Regions from separate parts of the Homo sapiens genome. Here region 2 is linked to region 1. Evidence: promoter capture Hi-C in 16 types of primary human blood cells and fetal thymus (Javierre and others, 2016). All regions are on one chromosome and are shown on one strand. Each heading gives the region's core, a stretch centred on a gene start or on the middle of the fragment in contact. The rest is flanking DNA. Distances are from core to core; before and after follow the strand shown.

What was found. The method cuts DNA at HindIII sites, captures the fragments that hold promoters and counts their contacts. A CHiCAGO score of 5 or more calls a contact.
Region 2: a fragment that was not itself captured here is called in contact with the fragment with the promoter of ANXA9 in region 1 in 1 of 17 cell types (neutrophils); the score reaches 5.7 in neutrophils.

The regions. Positions count from the first base shown.
Region 1 is chr1:150,979,750-150,984,825 of GRCh38, forward strand. ANXA9 (annexin A9) reads left to right here and starts at 2,543. Exons shown (of 14, transcript NM_003568.3): 1 at 2,543-2,630; 2 at 2,738-2,834; 3 at 3,341-3,431; 4 at 3,589-3,685; 5 at 4,226-4,320; 6 at 4,532-4,645; 7 at 4,837-4,927. The coding sequence starts at 3,357. It overlaps LOC105371438 (a long non-coding RNA gene), which reads right to left and starts at 1,756. Exons shown (of 3, transcript XR_922135.3): 1 at 1,672-1,756; 2 at 1,455-1,564; 3 at 209-337. RefSeq lists an enhancer at 3,067-3,928. The HindIII fragment of the contact is 18,662 bases long and covers 1,344-5,076 here.
Region 2 is chr1:150,570,510-150,575,341 of GRCh38, forward strand. ADAMTSL4-AS1 (ADAMTSL4 antisense RNA 1) reads right to left here and starts at 4,043. Exons shown (of 4, transcript NR_104133.1): 1 at 3,615-4,043; 2 at 3,150-3,312. It overlaps MCL1 (MCL1 apoptosis regulator, BCL2 family member), which reads right to left. Exons shown (of 3, transcript NM_021960.5): 3 at 4,049-4,832. The HindIII fragment of the contact is 1,546 bases long and covers 1,047-2,592 here.

The sequences.
Region 1 (5,076 bases), core at 1,293-3,792:
GTAATAACAACAGTAACAGTTACCATATAACAATACTTATCGTTATATATTTGATAACATTGTGACATTTCTACTTAACAGCGCTGTGCCCAGAACTCTTCTAAGTGCTTTATATGCACTGTAGTTATTTAATTCTCACAACAACCTATAACATAAACACTATTACTTGTCTGTTGATGATGAGGAAACTGAGCACAGAATAGTTGCCCAAGGTCACACAGAAGACCAGAATCCCGACTCTGAGAAGTCTGGCTCCAGAAGCTTTGCTTTTAGCCACCACGCTGAGACTGAGTTCCATTTTGGGGTTGTCAGGTGAAATACAGGACACACTGTTAAACTATAATTTCAGATAAACAAAAAATAATAATTACAGGCGGTGGCTCACGCCTGTAATCCCAGCACTTTGGGAGTCCAAGGCAGGTGGATCACGAGGTCAGGAGTTCGAGACCAGCCTGGCCAACATGGTGAAACCCTATCTCTACTAAGAATACAAAAAATTAGCCAGGCATGATGGCAGGCGCCTATAATCCCAGCTACTCGGGAGGCGGAGGCAGGAGAATCGCTTGAACCCGGGAGGTGGAGCTTGCAGTGAGCCAACATAATGCCACTGCACTCCAGCCTGGGCAACAGAGAGAGACTCCGCCTCAAAAAAAAAAATGTTAGTATATTTAATGAAATATTTGGGTCATACTTGTACCAACAAATGATTCCTCATTTACGTGAAATTCTGATTAAGCTGCATGTCCTGTATATTTATTTATTTAATCTAATACCCCTACTTTACAGGGCACTTTTCTCTGCCACATGCAATTACACAGATTACTTTTTTTTTTTTTTTTTTTTTTTGAGACGGAGTCTCACTCTGTCGCCCAGGCTGTGGAGTGCAGTGGCGCCATCTCAGCTCACTGCAACCTCTGCCTCCCAGGTTCAAGTGATTCTCCTGCCTCAGCCTCCCGAGTAGCTGGGATTACAGGCATGCGCCGCCATGCCCGGCTAATTTTTTGTATTTTTAGTAGAGACGGGGTTTCACTGTGTAAGCCAAGGCTGGTCTCGATCTCCTGCCTCATGATCCACCCGCCTCGGCCTCACAAAGTGCTGGGATTACAGGCATGAGCCACCGTGCCTGGCCACATTACCTTATTTATTTATTTATTTATTTATTTATTTTTATGAGTTCAATAGTTTTTGGGGACAAGGTGGTGTTTGGTTACATGGATAAGTTCTTTAGTGGACACATTACTTCATTTAATCATCCCAGGAAACCTGTCCTCGGAGGCCCCAGCATGTCCCACAGCCTCCGTCTCTCTCAATCCTCCCATTTAGAGAGCTGAAAGGACTAGCGAAGCTTACAGAACATAGGTGGCAGAGCTGGATATTGAACCCTCATTCTCCAGTTCTGACACAGGTGCATGTTTTCCTTTTAACAGGAGAGAAAAGTGAGGAGCAGTGATTACCGCCACAGAAATATCCTTTCATGGCGTGTCCTCCGGCATGGTCTACTCAGTGTGGTGGAGCCACTGCAGGTCCCTCCTCCAGGGATGTAGGAATGCCAGTGAAGGCCTTCCTGAGTTGGGAGAGAGGCAGAGGAGTGAGTGGAGGCAGGGCTGTAGCTTCTGTGCCCCGCCCCTACCCAGGCTCTCCAGGGAGGCAGGAAAGAGGCTGTGTTTAGACCTGAGGGAGCCAGCTGTGAGGCTGGAGCAGTTGCTGCATGGCGGGGCGGGGGCTCCACAGGGCTGTTCACCTGCTGCTCTGTGCAGAGACAGCCTCAAGTCCAGCTGCTGGGGTTGCATCACCTGCAGCTAAAACAGCCACAGGGCCCAGGCTGCCAAAAGGCAACAGAAGCAATCTAAGAAACCAGGCAAGGGAGCCTCCCCCATCTCCCTGTTGCCTTTTGGGAGCATAGAGCTTCCCTCTGAAGGTAACACCCTTTGCATTTTTCTCTCTTGACTCTGTTCATCAACTTCCACTCCCAAATACTTGTGCCCTTCCTTCTCCACAGATATACACAATCCCTGGGCACTCTCCACCTAGGTCAGCTGGCTCTAGTAAGGCAGCAGTCAAGGGAGTTTCTGGGCTGGGACCCCCTCTGGGGTGCAGGCTGGGGTGCCCTGCTGGTATGTGCCCCAACAGGTTTTTCCCTATCAGCCTTGAAATCAGCCTGCAGCCTGTCTGACCTGCCCCCCAGGGAGCTGGAGCCAGAGGCAGAGCCAGGTCAGAAGCTGGGGCAGAGCCAGGTCAGAAGCTGGACTTTGAGACTAGGTCTCTGTGGTCCCACCTGGACCCACAGGGAAGGCAGTGCATAAAAGCCTCCTGTGTTTGAGGCTGAGCCGCTGAGAGGCTGAGTGGAGTTCACTCACATGGATTGAGGCCCAGTTCCTGGGAGAAGAGATGCTGGGCAGGAAGGTGTCTGCATGTGGGACTCTGTACAGCCCGGTCCTCTCCCACGTCTGGGAGGGGCCAGAGTCAGACAACTGCTGGGTTCGTCCCTAAGAGAGGTCATCTGACTGGCTGTTCAGCCTAGGCTGCACACACCCCCACTTTCCTCTACCAGGCCACACCGGAGGCAGTGCTCACACAGGCAAGCTACCAGGCCACAACAACGACACCCACCTCACCTCTGGCACCTCTGAGTAAGTACTGGGCCCACGGCCCCATGCCAGGAGGGCTTGTTGATTGCTTGGGGGAGGGAAAAATGAGTTTTCCTTTTCCAACATGAGAGTGCCTCCTTTCTGTCCAGGCATCCACGTACTTGCAAGAACTCTTGCTCACATCAGCTAAGAGATTGCACCTGCTGACCTAGAGATTCCGGCCTGTGCTCCTGTGCTGCTGAGCAGGTAGGCAGCTGTACAGGCAGGAATTGAGGGTTGCTTGTCAGCTGGGGCTGCCGGTGGGGGAAGATGCTATTTCGAGTTGTCTTCCACTCTGCGTGGTTAATCCTGCCACCTCACCTCAGCTCCCCTGCACTGCCCAGGAGACCCCAGCCAGGCCCAGGAAGGAGGGCCATAGACCTCAGAAGGGAGGCATCTACCGCGGACCAAGGCCTGAGGAGCTTTGGTGCTGACCCTGGCATCAGGGAGGGTTGGCGCCTGGTCCAGGAGCATTCCGCATCAATCCCCACTTCCTAAAGGAGTGGGGAGAGGTGGGGAAGGTGGGGGCTCCCCTCTTACCTCACCATTTCAGCTCCATTTCTGGCTCCAAGCCTAAGCAGGTTGATCTTTTTTTCTGCAGCAAGGAAAGGAACAGGTGACTGGAACCCAGGGTCCAGGGTCTCGGGGGGGTCATAAGGAGTCCCTGAAGGGCCAGGAAATTCAGCTCTGTGGGCTCCTGTTTCCTTCCCCAGGGCAACCAGTAGCACCATGTCTGTGACTGGCGGGAAGATGGCACCGTCCCTCACCCAGGAGATCCTCAGCCACCTGGGCCTGGCCAGCAAGGTAGGGGCTGTTGGGATTTTAGAGATCACTTTTAGTATCTCAGCTCGGGCTGTGAGAGGATGGGAGGCAGGAAAGTGGAGGACAGGCCCTGAGGTTATGCTGAGGAGGTGTAGGCAGCCTGGCCCTGGCCCTTGCCAACTACCCTGTGCTCCCACAGACTGCAGCGTGGGGGACCCTGGGCACCCTCAGGACCTTCTTGAACTTCAGCGTGGACAAGGATGCGCAGAGGCTACTGAGGGCCATTACTGGCCAAGGTGAGCCCCTTTCCCCCGGCACTTGAGACTGCCTTTTAGAGCCAATCTGTAGACCAAGGAGGAGCCAGGAAGGAGGAACTAGTGATGTTGGAGAAATGTTTGTGGAATGCCTTCATTCTTGTATGTCAGGCGCCACAGTAGGTGTGTCAAACCCATTCTCACAACACCCCTGTGAGGCAAGGCTTATTATTTCCATTTTCCAGATGAGGAAACTGGGGCTCAGGGAGATTAAGAGGCTTGCCCAAGGTCACTCAGCTCATGACGGAGGTGGTATTCTCATCTAGGTCAGCCGATCCCCCCAAGTCGTATTTTTTTTTAACCACCACACCAGGCCACCTTTGCCTTGGTCTGGGTCAGATTTGCATGCTGTTTTGACATTTTATTTGCAACTTCTTTTGAGATAAAATGGAAGTGGGGGTGATATAGCCCCTGCTCCTTTCCTTCCCAGCCCTCTCCTGGAGCGCCTTCCCTCCTCCAAGGAGTAGGAACATCCCACTATGTAAAGACCCTGCTCACAGCACAGCCCTCATCTCGGTTCAGGCGTGGACCGCAGTGCCATTGTGGACGTGCTGACCAACCGGAGCAGAGAGCAAAGGCAGCTCATCTCACGAAACTTCCAGGAGCGCACCCAACAGGTGAGGCCATGCTGACCTCCCACAGCAGTGGACTGGGGTGAGAAACCCCCTGGAGGACTCGAGAGACAGCAACAGCCGCTGAGGCCAGCCCCTGCTTCCTGGCTAAACAGGGCCTGAGATGAAAACCAGCCAAATCTTCCCAAACCTCCCCACACTTCTGGGGCCCTTCCCCTCACCCCCGTCCCTCTGCTGTGAGGACCATTTATTGTAGGACCTGATGAAGTCTCTACAGGCAGCACTTTCCGGCAACCTGGAGAGGATTGTGATGGCTCTGCTGCAGCCCACAGCCCAGTTTGACGCCCAGGAATTGAGGACAGCTCTGAAGGTAGCAGGAGGGGAGACTTGCTGGGGTGTCTGGGGAAGGGAGAAGGCTGTCAGCCTTGCTTTTGCAAGACGAGAGTCCCCCTCTCGTCGTCCCATATTGTTTCTTAGAAGGAGAAGCAGCCAGCGTCTGCCCCTCTGTCTGCCATCCTAATGACACGGCCAGTCTGAGAGTAGACTCCCAATTTCTTGTAGGCCTCAGATTCTGCTGTGGACGTGGCCATTGAAATTCTTGCCACTCGAACCCCACCCCAGCTGCAGGAGTGCCTGGCAGTCTACAAACACAGTAAGAATATAGAGGGAGGGGTCCCAGATGCTGGAGAAGGGGCTGTAGGACAGGCCACTCCTCTCCTGTACTCCCCATAGGTGAGCTATCTGGCAACCTGGCTGCCTAAGTTCTATTCCCTTGGGGTCTTTCCTCTTGCCCCCACCAGT
Region 2 (4,832 bases), core at 570-3,069, 410 kb before region 1:
CAGGCATGAGCCACTGCACCCAGCTAGATCACAAACTTTAACATCTAGCCACATTTGCATTCTCATTATGGGATTCGTTATGCATAAATTCTTTAGCATGCATCTCCTAAAAACAAGGTATAATACTCAAGAAATTTAACATCGATACAGTAGTAACATACAATCCATAAATTTCCGCAAATGTCCCCATGTCCTTTATAGCTTTTTGACATGTGTAGTTAGTTGTCATGTTTCTTTTGAACTATTCCCCAATCTTTTTTTGAGTTTCTTTTTTTTTTCTTTTTTTTTGAGACAGAGTCTTGCTCTGTCTCCCAGGCTGGAGTGCAGGGGCCCAATCTCAGCTCACTGCAACCTCGGCCTCCCGGGTTTAAGCAATTCTTCTGCCTCAGCCTCCCAAGTAGCTGGGACTACAGGAGTCCACCACCACACCTGGCTAATTTTTATATTTTTACTAGAGACGGAGCTTCACCATATTGGCCAGGCGGGCCTTGAACTCCTGACATTGTGATCCGCCCGCCTTGGCCTCCCAAAGTGCTGGGATTACAGGCGTGAGCCACCGCACCCGGCCTCTTTTTTTGAGTTTCTTAAGGGGAAGAATGATCTCTTTATAATTCCATTATCTAACAGTTCATGATACATAATAAGCAGTCTACTGTCATGTAATGGAAAAATGAAGACACTCTCAACATCTGGCTGCCTAGAGCTCCTGCTAAATAGACAAGCCTGGGCAATATAGCAAGACCCCATCTCTATGAACAAAACAAAACAAAACACAAGGCATGGTGAGGTACCTGTAGTACCAGCTACTTTGGAGGTTGAGGTGGGAGTATTGCTTGAGCACAGGAGTTCAAGGTTGCAGTGAACCGTGATAGTCCCACTGCACTGCAGCCTGGGCAATAGAGTGAGACCCCACCTCTTAAAAAAAAAAAAATCCTAACTTACCTCAATGTTGAAGATTTCTCATTTCCCAATGGAAAATAACTATTATTCTATGCAGGTCAAGAAGGGAACTGCAAATTAGAAACCAAGTATAGTGTGGGAACAAAAGCTTGCTACGTATATCCTTTTTCTACTTCCCAAGAATTATTAGTAAAGGACACCAAATTTTCGGAGGTGTTTTTTTTTGAGATGGAGTCTCGCTCTGTCGCCAGGCTGGAGTGCAGTGGTGTGATTTTGGCTCACTGCAATCTGGGACTACAGGCGCGTGACCCCATACCCAGCTAATTTTTGTATTTTTAGTAGAGACGGGGTTTCACCATGTTGGCCAAGCTGGTCTCAAATTCCTGACTTCGGGTGATCTGCCCGCCTTGGGCTCCCAAAGTGCTGGGATTACAGGCATAAGCCACCGCCCCTGGCCTTTTTTTTTTTTTTTTTGAGAGGAAGTCTCGCTCTGTCACCCAGACTGGAGTGCAGTGGCATGATCTTGGCTCACTGCAACCTCCACCTCCTGGGTTCAAGCAATTCTCCTGCCTCAGCCTCCTGAATAGCTGGGACTACTAGTGCCCGCCACCAGTAGTGGCGTTTAACCGTGTTGGCCAGGCTGGTCTCAAACTTCTGTCCTCAAGTGATCAGCCCGCCTTGGCCTCCCAAAGTGCTGGGATTACAGGCGTGAGCCACCTCACTAGAGAGGTATTTATTTTGTTTGAGACAGAGTCTCACACTGTCACCTGGGCTTAAGTGCAGTGGCACGATCTCGGCTCACTGCAACCTCCACCTCCGGGGTTCCTCCCAGGTTCACGTGGTTCTCCTGCCTCAGCCTCCCAAGTAGCTGGGATTACAGGCGCCCGCCACCATGCCCAGTTAATTTTTTTTATTTTTAGTAGAGATGGGGTTTCACTGTATTGGCCAGACTGGCCTCAAACTCCTGACCTCATGATCCCTCCACCTTGGCCTCCCAAAGTGCTGGGATTACAGGTGTGAGTCACCGTGCCTTTTTTTTTTTTTTTTTTTTGAGACAGCGTCTGGCTCTGTCGCCCAGGCCCCGGAGTGCAATGGCATGATCTCAGCTCACTGCAACCTCCGCCTCCCGGGTTCGAGCGATTCTCCTGCCTCAGCCTCCCAAAGTGCTGGGATTACAGGCCTGAGCCACAGCGCCCGACCCGGAGAGCTGTTTCTTAATCTGCCTGGAGGAAAATCCCCAGCCCCCAACTTTCCACATACTTCACATAGATAACACTGTAACAACTTTGAAACTAAGAGGGAGAGAATTAAGTTTTCAAATTTGAAATTGAGAAGCCTTTGAAGAGTGGCAGCGTTCTAGAAAGTTCCATGATTGAACAAGTGAAGCAAAAAACTAGGATAGACTCAACTGACCATCTGAACTCCAGGAATTAATAGCCAGTGCTTTGGGCATCTGGCTGGAGCCATGGTACGCACCAGTTGTACAAGTTATTTCATTTTAATTTTGTAAAAAAAAAAAAAAAAATCCTTCGGCTGTCACAACTGTTTTAAATAAAAATTTTGTGAAAAAACAGTATGAAGACGTTGCTCTAGATACAGAACAGGAACTGAGAAAGTCTGGTTGTGTCAAATAAAGCAAAGTGTTGATAATTCTGACTACTGATTAAGGTTACCCAGTTACTATTAAATCCAAGCTTTTAAGGTGCTGAGCAAAGGAACACTGTACCAGAAACGGCTTCACATCATAGCACGTCAATGGGAGCAATAGCACTAACTTAACTCAGGCCAAGACTTGGGCTTGGGTCCTCTGTGGCTGCTACTCTCCTACCACACCTTTGCTTGGGAGTGCACTTACACAGCTTTCTTTGTAATGATACAAAAAGTTGCTGCCTTTTGGTAGTTAGGCTCCAGAAAGGGGCTTCCAAACCAAAATGCACTTTTAAATAGAAATGCAACTGACTGCAGGGAGGCACAGAATCCTGATTGCCTGATTAGCATATGGTGCTCAGGGCTTAAAACCAAGTATGCAAACCTCACATTTGCACATTTCCATGGTGATTCAGCTCACTTTCAAGGTAGCTGAAAATAAAAGCAGGATAGGGGTTTTTGAAATTGACTGGCTTCTTTTTACCTCCTTTTGGAAAGCAGAAGGGGAAAAGCACTGCTGCCAAGAACTTCATCAAAACTCTTTAACTTTAGGTATTATTTAGGTGTTATGATAGAGTAACTGCTGTACAGTACCCTCTTACCTCAAGATCAAGGCTGGGCGCAGTGGCTCAGGTCTGTAATCGCAGCACTTCGGCTGAGGCGAGTGGATCACTGAGGTCAGGACTTCAAGACCAGCCTGACCAACACGGCAAAACCCCGTCTCTACCAAAAATAGAAAAATTAGCCGGGCATGGTGGCGGGCACCTGTAATCCCAGCTACTCGGGAGGCTGAGGTTGCAGTGAGCCGAGATTGCCCCACTGCACTCTAGCCTGGGCAAAAGAGTGAGACTGTGCCTCAAAACAAAACAAAACAAAACATACCAACACCTGGTGATTCAAAAAAATCAAGACAGAGGCTGGGTGCGATGGCTCACGCCTGTAATCCTGGCACTCTGGGAGGCAGAGGTGGGCAGATCACCTGAGGTCGGGAGTTCAAGACCAGCCTGACCAACACGGAGAAACCCCATCTCTACTAAAAATACAAAATTATCTGGGTGTGGTGGCGCATGCCTGTATTCCCAGCTACTCAGGAGGCTGAGGCAGGAGAATCATTTGAACCTGGGAGGCGGAGGTTGCGGTGAGCGGAGATCGTGCCATTGCACTCCAGCCTGGACAACAAGAGCAAAACTCCATCTCAAAAAAAAAATAATAAATAAATAAATCAAGACAGAAATTTTGATTTTAAAGAGGTTTTTGATTTTACTTGGAGGTTTAAGAACTCCTCTAAGTACAGCAGTAATATATTTAATTAAAAACCCAACACCTCTAATTAGAATTGAAGAAAGGAACTGTCCTTTGCTCTAAGGCAAATCAACTTTGTGAGGCTTTTGCTTTGAATTCACCTGTACATATTTGCTCAGCTGACTTCTCTAAAAGGTTTGCCTAAGAGAGGGAAGGAAAAAGAGGCGTCGATGAGAAAAGACCCATATCACACCCTGTATTTGAATAAAAGATTTATTTTTTTTTCTCAGGAAAAACAGAAAGTTAGGGAAACACACTACATTTGACAACCAACATTAATTTGTAGTTGGTCCTAACCCTTCCTGGCACAGCTATCAAAAGTACAGCTGTTTAACCAGAACCAAGGTGTTCACCCCCCACAGAATGTACATGAAACACTAGAGGACTGCATGTTTTTCCCTGAGAGAAGCGTAAGACAAACAGAAGTCAAAAAGTAGTCACTGGGAGCGCCATCCTTCTAAGCAAATCCTCCCTTTCCCTTTTGGAGGATTTGCCCGAACTACGTAGCCAGTCAGCACTTAGACCACCTGCCTCCTCCTCCCCCTATAAACCCACCACTCCCCTCCTCCTTTCCCAAACCACTTGGGGTGTCCTAAGCCCTCACTGCCCCAAGCCCAAAATATCAACTAAGATCCTTGTCTGTATTTCCACAGTCATACCTAATGAATTGGGAAGTGGGGCCCCTAAAAACCAATTCACATCTATGCACTTGTTTCCACTGGATTTGGCAGACAGGCTTTTTTAGTTACCGTAACCAGATCTTAAGATTAATTAAAAACTACATAAAGTGCTTTTAGGTCCTTAGAGATACATGATATAAATAAGCGGCTTATGATCAAGAACGATAAATACATAGGTAAAAATAGCTCTAGCAAAGATGACCTTATGGCTCTGAGATGGGCAGGCAGGGCAGTTCTTCCCCATTACATTCTTAGTCATCTTATTCATACCTATTTTTAAATGGAGTCCACAGACTAAAGGTC